3 separate regions of the Homo sapiens genome follow, and regions 1 and 3 are each linked to region 2. Evidence: promoter capture Hi-C in 16 types of primary human blood cells and fetal thymus (Javierre and others, 2016). All regions are on one chromosome and are shown on one strand. The core of a region is centred on a gene start or on the middle of the fragment in contact, and the rest is flanking DNA. Distances in the headings are between cores, read along the strand shown.

Region 1 (4,937 bases), core at 616-3,115, 1.2 Mb before region 2:
ATCCATAAGAATTATTCCAACAAAGTAGTTGGATAAATTGAAACTTATACATGAGCATGTTCACTACATAAAAAATCTGTAGCTAATACATCATCCGCCCCCAAGCCCACCCCAAACTCATTATATATCAATTGGTTAAGAAAAAAACATATTTTTTAGAATGTTAATTAGTAGCAACACTGTAGTGAGGATTCAGGATTTTAGATTCCTAGTTTAGCACATTTCTTATAAATCCTATGAAGTCAGGCTAAATGTATTCATTTATCCATTGAATGAATAAAAGCCCTCAGCATATTATAAATTGAACATTTAGCACATAAAATTTATAATTCTGCTTTTCATATTTTTGTGATATCTAAAGATAGCATGCTAATCGCTTATGGTTTGGTTCTCCCAATACCCTCTCTTTATTGGGAGATAATGCCCTTCTTAGGTTTTGCTACTTGAGCCCACATGGTTCCATTTAGAGATTCTGTGCATCTGCCCTCTCTGGCTGTGATTGGTTTGAATGGGCACCATGACACAGGCTCGTCCATCAAAATCCTCCCCTGTTAATTTTCAAACTACAAACAAGAAAGACAGACAGTAATTCCCTTTGGAAACCATGGAAACAAAAGGCTGTGGTGCTCAAGGGTTGTTGTTGGCTGCTTTTCACTATGAAAAAGAGGTTGGGCTGGGCATCGTGGCTCACGGCTGTAATCCCAGCACTTTGGGAGGCTGAGGCAGCTAGATCACAAGGTAAGGAGTTCGAGACCAGACTAGTCAATATGGTGAAACCCTGTCTCTACTAAAAATACAAAAGTTAGCCGGGCATGGTGGTGGGCAACTGTAGTCCCAGCTACTCAGGAGGCTGAGGCAGGAGAATCACTTGAACCTGGGAGGCGGAGGTTGCAGTGAGCCAAGATCGCGCCACTGCTCTCTAGCCTGGGCAACAGAGTGAGACTGTCTCAAAAAACAAAACAAAACAAAACAAAAGTGACAGAAAAAGAGGTTGTTTGTTGTTTCACTGAACACAAACATCTGCCCTCTCTGGCTGCGTTTCTCTTTGTTTCTCTTTGTTCAGTGAAACAAAGTGAAACCAAAACAGAGAGAGAAGCAGAAATGAGAAATAGAGGGGCCCCTGGCTCCAGTCATCCCTGAAACTGTGCTGCTTCCCTGCACGTAGTCTAGCTACTCAACCTTTTCTTTGATTGTATGAGATACCTTAGTATCCTTTGAATAAACCCCCTTTCCTTTAGTTTAAACAAGTTTGAGCTATGTTTTTGTCACTCACAACTAAAAGAATATGTTTACTGGAAAATGACTTGTTGAATTTTTTTTCATGCAATTCAGAAACAGTAATAGTTATGCTTGGGTTTCAAGACATAAACTGTGAGTTGCCAGCAGAGGTTATGATCCAGCTGTGCCACCAAGGGCATGCCATCTTGAAGGAATTAAGAAAATGTGGCTTTAATAAGGTAAAAGTGTAGCTATACCATAATTTCTATCATCGTTAGAATCATCTAGCTATTTATTTTTTCAGAGTTTTGCCTCATGTTTGCTTAGAAAAAAAGTCCTCCTTTCCTTGATATACTTTCTGAAATGCCATCCTCCTCATTCATTTCCAATTCAAATTGAATTTCTTTGAGTATAGCATTTGGTGTAGCATCTATAATATCCTATGCACCTGGATACAATGGATAAGTGAGCAGGCTCTGTGTGGAATTTTTCAGGACACAGGTGGTAGTTAGCGGTCTTTGTATTTGGTAATGTATAAGATTCTTCTCATCCTCAAATTCCCCATTAGTGTCTCCACACCAGGACCACTGATGCTTTTTGCAGACTAAAGCTGTCCTTGGCTGAGAAGTGGAAAGGAGAAATGATTTTAAAAACTGAAGAAAAAGCAGCTACCTTAATAGAAAAGAGCACTTAAAAGGCTTTATAAAAAAAAAAAACTACAGAATTTAGAAAAATCACTTTATCTTCCCCTTTTCCCTGAATCACTGACCACTCAAGCCATGCTATAGAAACCTGAAGGATGGGGGGCCATTTAGACTGTGTTATGAGCTATAAAATATGTAGAAAGAAAAAGTGAGAACTAATTATCTTCCCCCACACTGCTGAGATATTAGACTCACTCACTTCCATCTCTTCTGACATATGGTTTTAGATCCAAAGAAATATGTGTCCTTCGGAAAAAAAGAGATGTTGTCAATTTTTTTCTTAACACAAATCATGTGTAACTTTATCTCCCCAATTTGTCCAAGGAAAGAAAATAAAACTGCACAAAAGTTATTAAGTAGAATGCCAGGAGTCCTATAGCTTGAAAAGCCCTACTCCAGGATGTTATGTGCCCAGGACACAAAGGGGGTCAGTTTTATCCACTATCCGCCACTACTGTGGCCTAAGAAGCATGAGAAACACTACAAATCCCCTGAAAGGGAAATTCTGTCTCAGGCTTCATGCCTCAGCTTGCATTTTTCTTCTTGTACTCTCGATTTCCCTGGTTTTCAATGATGGCTTCTACTATACCCATGTTTGCTCACCTCAGTACCTGCACCTATTCTCTTCTTCCCCTCATCTCATTTGTGCCACCTGAGGCCTTGCCTACTAAGCAAGGATTGACAACCCTTGCTCTAAACCAGCAGATCAGCAATCCCCAGGCCAATACCCTTTTTGTTACGCACTGCCAGTGAGCAGGGACATGACCGCAACACAAACCCCCCAATTCCCAGGCCCTTTCCATTACAGAAGGTAGAAAATGCCTTAACCAACTCACCTCAAACTGAAGAGAAAATTTATAGTCAGAGTCTTTGGCCATATCCTTAATATAGGCATCAAAGTCATCCAGTTGAACCGGGCTTTGCCAAACACAAAGAAATATACATACATTTTAAAATTCTTGTTGATAGGTATTATATATTGTTTAATATCATACTTCTTAATCTTCTTGGAGAAAATAGAAGTTTTACTTCTCTAAGGTTAGCACTCACCTTTTTTTTTTGGTTCAAGTTACCAATCCTTAATATATTGCAATTGAAAAGAAGGGCATATATATCCAGCTTCCTTGATAGGAGAAATCTCTAGATTTCCACTTGGCTCTTACTGTAGCAGTACAGTAGTATATATATGCATACTCGTATACACACACCCCCATCTGTGTTGCTTCTAAAAAACTCTGGCATATGGAAAATAACAAAGGAATGGATTCCAAAGACCTGTTTGAGTTATGGTTTTGCTTTATTGACTGTGTTATCCTAGAGAATCGCCTAACTCTTCAGAGTCAATGTTCTCATCCATAAAATACAGTAGTTACAGCTACAGGGTTGACATACAGTACATAAAGAACTTTGTAAGTTTCAACAGCTTTACAAGTATAAGGAATTGTGCTGCTAGCTACAGTCTCCCCAAAGCAGAGGCAGGATCAGTGGGATGAAACTTTTGTCCAGAAAGCTCCCAGGGTCTCACTGGAGTGAGTTATCTTTAGAGGCTTGCATATCTATAAAAGTATGGAAATGGCTCAGAGGTTCAATCAAGTAACACATCTGAGCTATGTTTCTGCATCCGCAGCAGAAGTTCTCACTTTTTTTTGAGAATAAGAATCAAGTTTTATCTCCTGTAGTTTTCTGTAGCTGCTTATCTCCTCTAGAGCCTACCTAAACCAATTTGCTCTCTAAAGTAGCTCTCTGCTTCTGCAGAATTCCACATTCTGTCATCTAACTCAAGCCTTTCCACTTTGGCAGGGTCTTTATAGTTGACCCTTCCCTTGGTCTTGTGGTGTGTTACTCAGCTTATATCATCTAACTGTGGTCTTTTTTGTTTTGTTTTGTTTTGTTTTGTTTTGTTTTGAGACAGAGTCTCACTCTGTCACCCAGACTGGAGTGTAGTGGCACTATTTCGGCTCACTGCAACTTCTGCCTCCTAGGTTCAAGCGATTCTCCTGCCTCAGCCTCCCAAGTAGCTGGGACTACAGGCAGGTGCCACCACACCTGGCTAATTTTTGTATTTTTAGTAGAGATTTGGTTTCACCATGTTGTCCAAGGTGGTCTTGAAATCCTGACCTCAAGTGATCCACCTGCCTCAGCCTCCCAAAGTGCTGGGATTACAGGTGTGAGCCACTGCACCTGGCCTAACTGTGGTCTTATGTCCAATTAGAAAATACATAGTATTTAATAATGCTCATTTAAAGTTGTTGATTAGCTAATCTGATTAATTCATTTATGTTAACATTTTAGTAAATTTTAGAGGGCGTTATATCTTCCAGAGAATACCTTTAAACTGAAATGTTTTTACTTAATAACAATAACTCATTTATAAAACACGCTACACTTCATAAATAGTCACATGCATTATCTTGCTTAATTGATCCCTGAGGTAGGAATAGACAACATTAGCTCCATGCTCCAGCTGAGAGAGCCACGGCTAAGAGAGTTAAGTGAGTAGCCCAACATCACATGTCTACTAAGCAGTAGAATTCTCACTGGAATCCAGGGAGAGTAAGTCCTGGTTCAAAGCTTTTCCCACTTCAAACTTGTTATCCTTCCAAAAGAATGGGCTAAAGTTGGGACTCCTCTCCTGGAATGAACCCCCTTAGAACTGCACTCTCTGGCTGGTGTCTTTGGGCAGTGTATCGACCTTAAAGTTGGATTTAACAACTCTAGCTTTCATCTTGTTACTAGGAAAATGGGCACATGTATACAGAAGGCAAACCAGACAAAGTATTAATGGGTTAAAAGAAGTAAAAGCAAGAAGCAGAGGGAAAAGAGAGAGAGAGGAAGGAATAGCAAACAGAAGAATGGACATAAGGGAGAAGGAGAATGACAAGGAGAAGAAAAAGAAAGCTGGAAGGGAGTAGAGACCAAAAGGACAAATATCTACAGAGGAAAAAGAAAAAGAGGAGGTGATGGAAAGGAAGGATGGAATGAAGACAAGTGGAGATAGAAAATGGGAACCAGGGG
Region 2 (4,965 bases), core at 1,593-4,092:
TAGCATTATTTTTAATAGAGAAATGAGCAAAAAGCAAAACAGGAAACAAAAAATGAAAGGTTTAATAAATCACAGTAAATTCTTCTTAGAGATAACAATAATATGTAACCATTTTAAAATGTGTTTAAAAAGAACATTTGATCATGTGGGATATTATAATAAAGTATCATGCAACCATTTAAAGACATATTTTAGAAGAATAATGAAATGGGAAAATACTCATAACATTAAAAGAGTAGAAATGAAATTATGGTACCAATGAAAAACTAATTAATAAACATTTATAGATTGCTCAATCATGGAAAAGTGAAGTCACAAATCACCAATACCTTTAGAGTGGTTATTTCTAAGCATTGTTAATTAATTTTCAATATTTTCCAAATGTTCTATAATGAATAAGTTTAAAAATATTTAAATACATTTATCACATATGCAAAACCTAATTTAAAGAAAAAATAGTTCTAATTGTTTAATAACTCAAACCTGTCTTTTCTAAACTACATATAAATTTTTAAATTTACAAAACTACAAAGATTTTAAATAACTTCAGTAACTTGGTATTCATTCCTGGAGTAACCTAGTCTTAATATTTATATATGTTGGATATGTGTCAAAATTTTGTGGCATCATAACCACCAAACTAAAATTTTAAAATATACTTGTTATTGACAAAGTACTAATAAACAAATAGTTGGTGTTCAGGCAATTAATTAATCTTATTAAGTTTACATGATTATATCTGCCTTGTAAGAAACATGACAGCAAAATCGTCCCATCAATAAATATGTTCTTCATATTCAAGAGCATTTTCAAATACCTCTTACTACCTTCAATATTAACCTAAAAAGCAATCATCTGTATATTCAAATGAAAACATACGCTTATATACACCAAACTATTTCATTTTTCTGGAAATGTAAAGTGTACCATGCCCTAAGATCAAAGATCAAAGTTCTTTTGTTAACCGAAATATTTATGTGTATGTTCAACTCGAAAATGCCTGAAATAGCATGTGGTAGAAAGGGGCTGCTAGGTAACCACTCCAGAAACATAAAAGGGAGAAAATTACACAACTGCTCTCTAAATATACTTCTGTGTAGAAGACCTCAGAGATCCAAGAATTACATCAGGTCAAATATTCTCTTGAGAAAAAAAGAAGAATCTTTCCTACCTCCATTCTATCTCATATGTGACGTCATTTAAAAATCCACCAACCAAAAGTATTACTTTCAATTACATCTAGGTAATATTTACTAATGGTATTTGTTTTAGGCAATAAAAATTTCCCTAAATTAACCGAGATTATAAAGCAAGAGGCACGTCTTCATTTGACAGTAGACTGATTCAAACTTAAAGAGTTATAACCAACCAAGAAACCAGTTGTTGTATATATGAACCACAAATGAAGTCTATGGAAAACATTTGCAAGTTTCTTTGCTTAGTAAGAAAGAATTTGCACAACGGGAGAATCATATCAAATCTTATATAACTTCCCCCAATTGTGTTACATAAGATTTAACTATAGTTGACACTACCATTTTAAACTAATCAGTAGCATATTTATAATTACCTTCCCTAAAAAACTATTAATAAAACCAGGAGCACACTTACAATTAAAAAATCAAACACAACTGTATCTTACACACATGCATACAGTACAGTGTTTAAAAGAAAAAAACAGATTTTTTTTATTAATGGTCCACTTTCTTCAAAGAGGCCTCAGGGTAATGGATGTTCTTTCTAGAATTCTTCATCAGAAAAATTTACCAAATAAATGTTATAGCTTACATATCATAGCAAACAAAAATGCTAAGAAAATGAGTTGATTAATTTCAAAAGTAACAATAATCTAGCTGAAGCAGTAATGAACAAGTCACCTAAGAAACTTAAAACATGTAAAATTCAAATGCCCAGAAACATACAAACTGATTAAAATTAAAACTTTATTTACTTAGGATCAAACATTTAAAACCAAAATAATCCTCAGATTGAGATTTCATTTTCGATTATACTGTAATTTCTTCCACTATTCCCGTTCCCCCAATATTCCCAAAACTAAAATTGTTTCTGTTTTGTAAACATTCCACACATCCATAACAGAACAGGTAAAAATAGGGTTAAAAATGTATTTGCAAATATGCAGTTCAAATAAATGCACTTCCCGTGAGAACACCACTAGGTGCTGATCTTTACCACCGTAAATATAAACCTGAATCCAGTAATACTTTAAAACTGAAATTATAATCAAGAACCACAAATGAAAATCATTTTTACAGAAAATTAAGTCCACAATTTTTCAAAAAATCGAAAAAACAGAGAAGAGCTTGAGGTCGGCCCAGGAGTACAACATTAGAGTAATGTTTTTCTTGAAAATTGTGAGAATTTAAGGTTAACACAAAGAAACCCCTCAAGAACGAGGAAAATTAAATCTAGAACCCAAATGGCGTCCAACAAGAACATTAGATCTTGAAAATGAATATTGCGCTTGCGCAGCCACCGCCCCGCCAGCTGCACAACTGCAGCTAGAGCCCGACCCCGCAAGATCACGTGCTCCCATGCAGCGCCGCCCGCAGCTCCGCAACCGCGCAGGCGCAGACACAACTCCCGCAGCCGCCATAATGCGGTCTTGACTCTTCAGAAATACAATAGTAATTTAAGAAAATGTGGTTTTAACAGCCCCTGGGATTCACATATACCTTTTGGGGCGGAAGCTGAGGGAGGGGGAACCAAGTTCCTTCCTACAGAGCCGTCCCGCGCAGCCGTCCCCGACGTTGCCGCCTCAGCTTTTCGCGCGCTTCAGTCGCCGCGCCGCCGCTGCCACCGCCGCCGCCTCCGCAGATTCAAAAACAAACCCGCTTCTCCCTTGCACGCGCCGGGGCCGTTATGCAAATTAATATGGGCGGGGCTCCGGGGGGTCGTGCTATGTACCCCGCCCACTGTGCTATCAGCCAATAAGCTCAAGGACTAGCCATTCCCCATGCAAATTCTGGTTTTTTATTTGAATGAGGGACATTGGCCCCGCCTCCTGCGTGGAAAAGAGAAGGAAGCCCGAGGTGGTGGCGCTGCGTCTCTCAGTTGCAGTGTGAGGTGTGTTTTTTGAGTGGATCTTCCTCAATCAATAAGTAGCACTTTGTGAGCGCCCTCTATGAGGCTTAGAAAAGAAAGAAGGAAGGAGGTAGGTGAGAGTTTAAAGAGCAGAGGGAAAGATTTTCATAAAAGCCAGGAGTATGTTGATTTATTCATCATTTATGTTTTAAATTCACAGAATGTACTTTGAATTGTATTAATAATGAAGGAATGAAAAAAACATACTTTCTTTCAGTTGCTTGGTAACAGAGCAAGCACTTTTTATCATACTCTCTCACCAGAAGTTGTATTCATCCCATTTATTCAATTTCATGCTGGGAGTCGGCCTTTAATGAATTCCACAGGAGGTAGTGGACAAGTCACTGCCTTACTGGTTAAGAGATCTGGGTTCAAGTTCAACTACTGCAGCTTCCTTGCCGGTTCCTCGGAATAAGTGTGTTACTCAGTTTTCTCACCTGTATAATGGCAATCATGACTATAGTTGAACTAGGTTGGAAGCACTAAATGATAGAATAAATGTACATATGTTTTGGCCAGGTGCCGTGGCTCAGGCCTGTAATCCCAGCACTTTGGAAGTCTGAGGGGGGGTGGATCACCTGAGGTCAGGAGATCAAGACCAGCCTGGCCAACATAGTGAAACCCCGTCTCTACTAAAATTACAAAAATTAGCTAGGCATGGTGGTGCGTGCCTGTAATCCCAACTACTCAGGAGGCTGAGGCAGGAGAGTTGCTTGAACTGGGACCTGGGAGGCCGAGATTGCAGTGAGCGAAGATCTCACCACTGCACTCCAGCCTGGGCTACAGAGCAAGACCCCTTATCAAAAAAAAAAAAAAAAAAAAAGAATAAAAGTACATATGTTTTGCAAGGCAAGAATAGCCTGAAAATAATATTAGATGGTACCGTGTGGTTATTGTTTTTTTATGTAACTTCTCATTATATGAATGTATTGGTTCAGTATTTATTTAGCAATCACTGTGTTGTAGATCTGTTAGGTGCCTGTCCTCAAGAAATCTGTACTCTAGTGAAGAAGACAGAAAACTGAACAAGAAATTTTTGTAACTAATAAGAAATTAGAATAGGGTTGTTAATACTTATTTTTATAACTGGAACCATTCAATTTACTTAAAATATAAGGTGGCCTTTAGAAATATCACCTAGGGCCGGGTGCAGTGGCTCACGCCTGTAATCCCAGCACTTTGGGAGGCCGAGGCGGGCAGACCATGAGGTCAGGAGATCGAGACCATCCTGGGTAACATGGTGAAACCCCGCCTCTACTAAAAATACAAAAAAAAAAAAATTAGCTAGTCGTGGTGGCACGCGCCTGTAGTCCTAGCTACTCGGGAGGCTGAAGCAGGAGAATCACTTGAACCCGGGAGGCAGAGGTTGCAGTGAGCCAAGATCACGCCACTGCACTCCAGCCTGGGCAACAGAGTGAGACTCCATCTCGAAGAAAAAAAAAAGAAATATCACCTAATCCAGACCTAGAGAATTAGAAAAGCCTTCCTAGAAGAGGTCATCTCTATCATGATAAATGATTTAATTAATTTTTTGCCTAAAAGTTGGACCTCATTGGGACAGCAATGAGGAATCATTTAAAAGGTTTTAAGTCGGGATATAACACAATTAAATTTGCATTGTTTAATCGCTAAATGTTGTAACATCATTAGCACAGTCCTTAGCATATACTCAATAAATTATAGATGCTCAATTATAATTTATTTATTATAATTTTCATAGTACATCAGTGCTCAATTATAAGTAGATGCTCAGAAAATTAGAAATATTGATATTAAATGTTACACTCCATAATAATAAGAGAAATTGGATTGGAATACTAGAGCCCATTATGTTTCTCTTTTTATGTCTTCTGTAAGCAT
Region 3 (4,700 bases), core at 1,715-4,214, 1.2 Mb before region 2:
TCCGGAATGTGGCCTATTAATCTGCTAGTAAAAACACTGTTGAAGTTTTTTTTTTTTTTCCAGAAGTAGAGAAAAAGTAAACATATTCTCATGCCTTCTCTATCTTTTGGCTAATTTCATGCATGAATAACAGCTCATTGGGGCTCATGTATCTCATTTTTTCTTTATACGGAATTAATGGATTTAATACTCAGAACTGAAGCAGAGATTTTAACATTACTGGCACAATGTGCTAATTACTTGAATTATCTACCTGTTCTTATTAAGGTGTTCCAAGAACAATTTTCTTCTTTTGAAAAATACACTAATATAATATCATAGTGTATTATAATTTACACATCATTAATGAATTTTCCTATGTCAATTTCCTATATATGGGATTTATTTTACCTGTAACTCAAGGGTTTTAATCTGGAGTTCCAAAGATAGAATTTAGGACTCTATGAACATATGTGGGAAAAGGGTACATATTTATTTTCACAACCTGTGACTAAACTTAGCAGTCCTTTCTATCATTAAAGTAGGTACCAAACCATCAGAATATCCACATGGATGATTTGCTAACAATAGAGATTACATATTTTTTAATAATAGACTTGCTGCAGATATCTTGAAATATTGGTCATATGCATCACCATGATGAAATTGTTAGACTATTACATATTGACATTGAATATACTAATTAAAAAGTGTACAACACATTTGCTTTTTAAATATTATGATTATCATATTTCAATATAGTTGTATAATCCTATGTATTTTATTTTAGGCACAGAAAATGGAAGCATTATTCTTAGAAGAGTTCACCAGACTGCCAAAAAGGATCATAGCATGAAAAATGATGAGAATCTATGCTTTAATAACTAGCTGAAAGAATCAGAACCACCTCTCCTAAATATCTTTGGTATGTACCACAAAAAATGCTCAGAAATACCACTACTTGCATTACATCTATTACCACCTCCTCCACCATTACTATTATGAGCTAACATTTACTGCACACTTCCTATGAGTTGAGTATTACGCTATGTTATTACTGCGTTAATGCTCCTAAGTATCCACTAATATAGGGGCAATTATCATCTCTTCTGCATACACATTGTTCCCCTAGCTTCCAGGCCACCACACTCCCTTAGTTGTCCTTATACTTCACTGGCTGCCTCTTTGTCAGTCGCTTACTGTTATCTTCTTTTCTCCCTGAAAACCTTAATATTGATTGTTCCAGTGATTAATGCAGGGCCTTCTTTTACATTTACTCCCTGAATTTCATCCAGTCTAAAGCTCTAACGCAATTTATATGTTAACAACTCTCAATTTTTTTTTTCCTGAGACGGAGTTTCACTCAGTCGTCGCCCAGGCTGGAGTGCAGTGGCACGATCTCAGCTCACTGCAACCTCCGCCCCCCAAGTCCAAGCGATTCTTCTGCCTCAGTCTCCTGAGTAGCTGGGATTACAGGCACCCGCCACCACGCCTGGCTAATTTTTTTGTATTTTTAGTAGAGACGGGGTTTCACCATGTTGGCCAGGCTGGTCTCAAACTCCTGACCTCAAGTGAGCTGCCTGCCTCCCAAAGTGCCGGGATTACAAGCATGAGCCACTGTGCAGAACCAACAACTCTCAAATTTATATCTTCAACCAAAAATTCTCTTTCAAACATTAGACTTTTATGTCCAGGTGGCTACTCTGCACCTGCACTTGCAAGTTATCTCAAACTTAACATTTCTGTGATGGTTAATACTGAGGGTCAACTTGATTGGATTGAAGGACACAAAGTATTGATCCTGGGTGTGTCTGTGAAGGTGTTGCCAAAGGAGATTAACATATGAGTCAGTGGGCTGGGAAAGGCAGACCCACCCTTAATTGGGTGGGCACAATCTAACCAGCTGCCAGTGAATATAAAGCAGGCAGAAAAATGTGAAAAGGAGAGACTGGCCTCGCCTCCCAGCCTACATCTTTCTCCTGTGCTGGACGCTTCCTGCCCTTCAACATTGGACTCCAAGTTCTTCAGTTTTGAGATTCAGACTGGCTCTCCTTTCTCCTCAAGCTTGCAGACAGCCTACTGTGGGGCCTTGTGATCGTGGAAGTTAATACTTAATAAACTCCCATATACCTATATCTATGTATAATATATAATAGGAGATATATATATATATACACACACACACTATATCTATATATAATATCTAATAGGATATATATATACTACTATGTACTATTAGTTTTGACCCTCTAGAGAACTCTGACTAATACAATTTCCAAAACTGAAGTCTTGATGTTCCCCCAACTCTGACCTGGAATCCTCTCTCAGTTGATGGCAGCTCCATCCTTTCAAGTGCTTGGGCCAAAAACCCAGGAGTTAGCCTCAACTCTCTTTTTTTGTTTATTTGTTTTTTGAGATGGAGTTTCACTCTTGTTGCCCAGGCTGGAGTGCAATGGCGCAATCTCGGCTCATCGCAACCTCTGCCTCCTGTCTCAGCCTCCTGAGTAGCTGGGATTACAGGCATGTGCCACCACGCCCAGCTAATTTTGTATTTTCAGTAGAGACAGGGTTTCTTCATGTTTGTCAGGCTGGTCTCGAACTCCCGACTTCAGGTGATCCACCTGGCTCAGCCTCCCAAAGTGCTGGGATTATAGCCTCAACTCCTTTTTTCATTTCCATTCCATATCAACTTATTAGCAAATCCTGTTGCTCCTATTTTCAAAATATGTCCAGAATCTGATGGCTTCTCTCTGCCTTCAGTGTTGCTGCTCTGGACTGAACTATTAGCATCTCTTGCCTGGATTCCTGGCTACCACAGTTGATATGCCTGTCTCTGTCCTTGCCTCAATACAGCCTGTTTTCTACATAAAAGTCAAAATGAAAGTGTTAAATCTAAGTCAGATGCTGTTAATCTTCTGCTCCAGAGCCTGCAATGCCTGCTCATTTTACTGAGTAAAAGCCAAAGTCCTTCCAAAGGCATACGAAGCCCTGCATAACTTGACATCTCCTTCTACTCTTGTCTTCCTCCGCTTTAGTCACAACGGCCCCTCTGCTACACTTTGAACATCCCAGTCGTGCTCCTACCCCAGGGCCTTTACACCAGCTGTTCTTGCCACTGGGCACACTCTTCCCACAGATAACACAGGCTACCTCCCTCATGTGCTTCAAGTCTCTGCTCCAATGCCATTATTTCAGTGAAGCCTACCCACCTCCTAGGACCCCTAACACCACACTGGTACTGCTTATCTCCCTTACCTGACCTTGTTTCCTTTCCTTATCACCTGCTAACTTAAGGGGCAGTCCTTTTACTTATATCTTTATTGTTTATTGTCTATTTCTCCCACTAGAATATGAGCTCCATGAAGGCACATATTTTTGTCTGTTTCATATACTGTCATATATGTAGCAATATTTGTAATATGAACGCATGAAGTTTCAGTGACCTACACAAATTCACGCAAGTTGGAAGTCAAGATTCGATCTCAAGGAGGCCGAGCATGGTGACTCACGCCTATAGTCCCAGCACTTTGGGAGGCTGAGGTGGGCAGATTACTTAAGGTCAGGAGTTCGAGACAAGCCTGGCCAACATGGTGAAACCCTGTGTCTACTAAAAATACAAAAATTAACTAGGCCTAGTGGTGCGTGCCTGTAATCCCAGCTATTCAGGAGACTGAGGCAGAAGAATCGCTTGAACCTGAGAAGCAGAGCTTGCAGTGAACCAAGATGGCACCATTGCACTCCAGCCTGGGCGACAGAGTGAGACTCTGTCTCAAAAAAAAAAAAAAAAAAAAAAGATTTGACCTCAAGGAGTGTAATTTCAGAGCTCTCCACTGTAGTTACAGTGCAATCCCACATCTCTTCTTATCCTTTTAAGATTATTCAAATGCCAACCTTCAAGAAGCTTATTTTCACATTCAGAATTAGTCTTTATTCTCTAGTTTCATGGCATCCTGTTTTTAATCCCCTTTATGCTACATGTCAGCTTATGCCTTTAAATATATCTATCTATTCATATATCCAGTTAGGTAAGTAAGCTCCTAGTGGACAGCTTTGATGTCTGATTTTTCTTTGGATATGCCATGTCAGGCACTGATTAGATCACTATTGGATAGATGAATTTATTTATAAATATGTGAGTGATAGAACTCTGAGACAGGAGAAGAATGTTAATTTATAATTCAGCAGGTTAATATTGGGCAAATATAAATGTTAACAAAATTTCCCAAACCAAGTAGTATTCAAATAAGCAACAGTTTTTAAGGGAATTGATAGATTATTCTGATAATACAGGGGGCCACAGAAACTACTTGAGAATGTGCTCTGATGAGCAATGCATCAGTGGTCAAAGGAACAGGGAAGAGCTGAAATCATAAATCAAAGGCTTTTCTAATTGCAAGAAAAACTAAGCTGGCTGCAACTCTGAGTAATAGGAATAAAACTAATAGAGACTGCTAATGGACCTAATCATAAACTGTACAAATATTTTCCAATAGAACAGCTTAAAATTATGGAGAGGATTTCCCGCCCCCCACCCCGTTCTTTCTTGTCATCTCCATTTTTATTAACTTTTTTCATTAACTATACTGAACTGTCATAGATATTTCTTTTATTCCAAATGTGTATGAAAGTACCCAAATGTAATGGATCTCCATATATGGGCTACTTCAAATGCCAAGATTGATAGCAAGAGGTCTGACTTTGTGTAAACAAGCAATCCTTTG

Evidence for each region. Contacts are between HindIII fragments. The CHiCAGO score rates a contact against its expected background, and 5 or more counts as called.
Region 1: a contact is called between a fragment that was not itself captured here and the fragment with the promoter of ATF7IP in region 2, in 1 of 17 cell types (non-activated CD4 T cells). The highest score is 5.4, in non-activated CD4 T cells.
Region 3: a fragment that was not itself captured here is called in contact with the fragment with the promoter of ATF7IP in region 2 in 1 of 17 cell types (non-activated CD4 T cells); the score reaches 5.4 in non-activated CD4 T cells.

The regions. Positions count from the first base shown.
Region 1 is chr12:15,567,320-15,572,256 of GRCh38, reverse strand. It overlaps PTPRO (protein tyrosine phosphatase receptor type O), which reads right to left. Exons shown (of 27, transcript NM_030667.3): 19 at 2,759-2,840. Among named protein-coding and RNA genes, the nearest start is that of EPS8, 220 kb to the left of the region's middle. RefSeq lists an enhancer at 1,027-1,216. The HindIII fragment of the contact is 5,261 bases long and covers 1-4,495 here.
Region 2 is chr12:14,363,559-14,368,523 of GRCh38, reverse strand. It overlaps ATF7IP (activating transcription factor 7 interacting protein), which reads right to left and starts at 2,842. Exons shown (of 15, transcript NM_018179.5): 1 at 2,697-2,842. It overlaps LOC124902884 (a long non-coding RNA gene), which reads left to right and starts at 1,334. Exons shown (of 2, transcript XR_007063220.1): 1 at 1,334-3,175. RefSeq lists enhancers at 1,127-1,266, 2,623-2,682, 3,153-3,212, 2,444-3,261. The HindIII fragment of the contact is 10,385 bases long and covers 1-4,965 here.
Region 3 is chr12:15,551,868-15,556,567 of GRCh38, reverse strand. The region is part of intron 15 of PTPRO (protein tyrosine phosphatase receptor type O); the gene reads right to left. LOC105369672 (a long non-coding RNA gene) reads left to right here and starts at 657. Exons shown (of 3, transcript XR_002957403.2): 1 at 657-904. The HindIII fragment of the contact is 1,837 bases long and covers 2,046-3,882 here.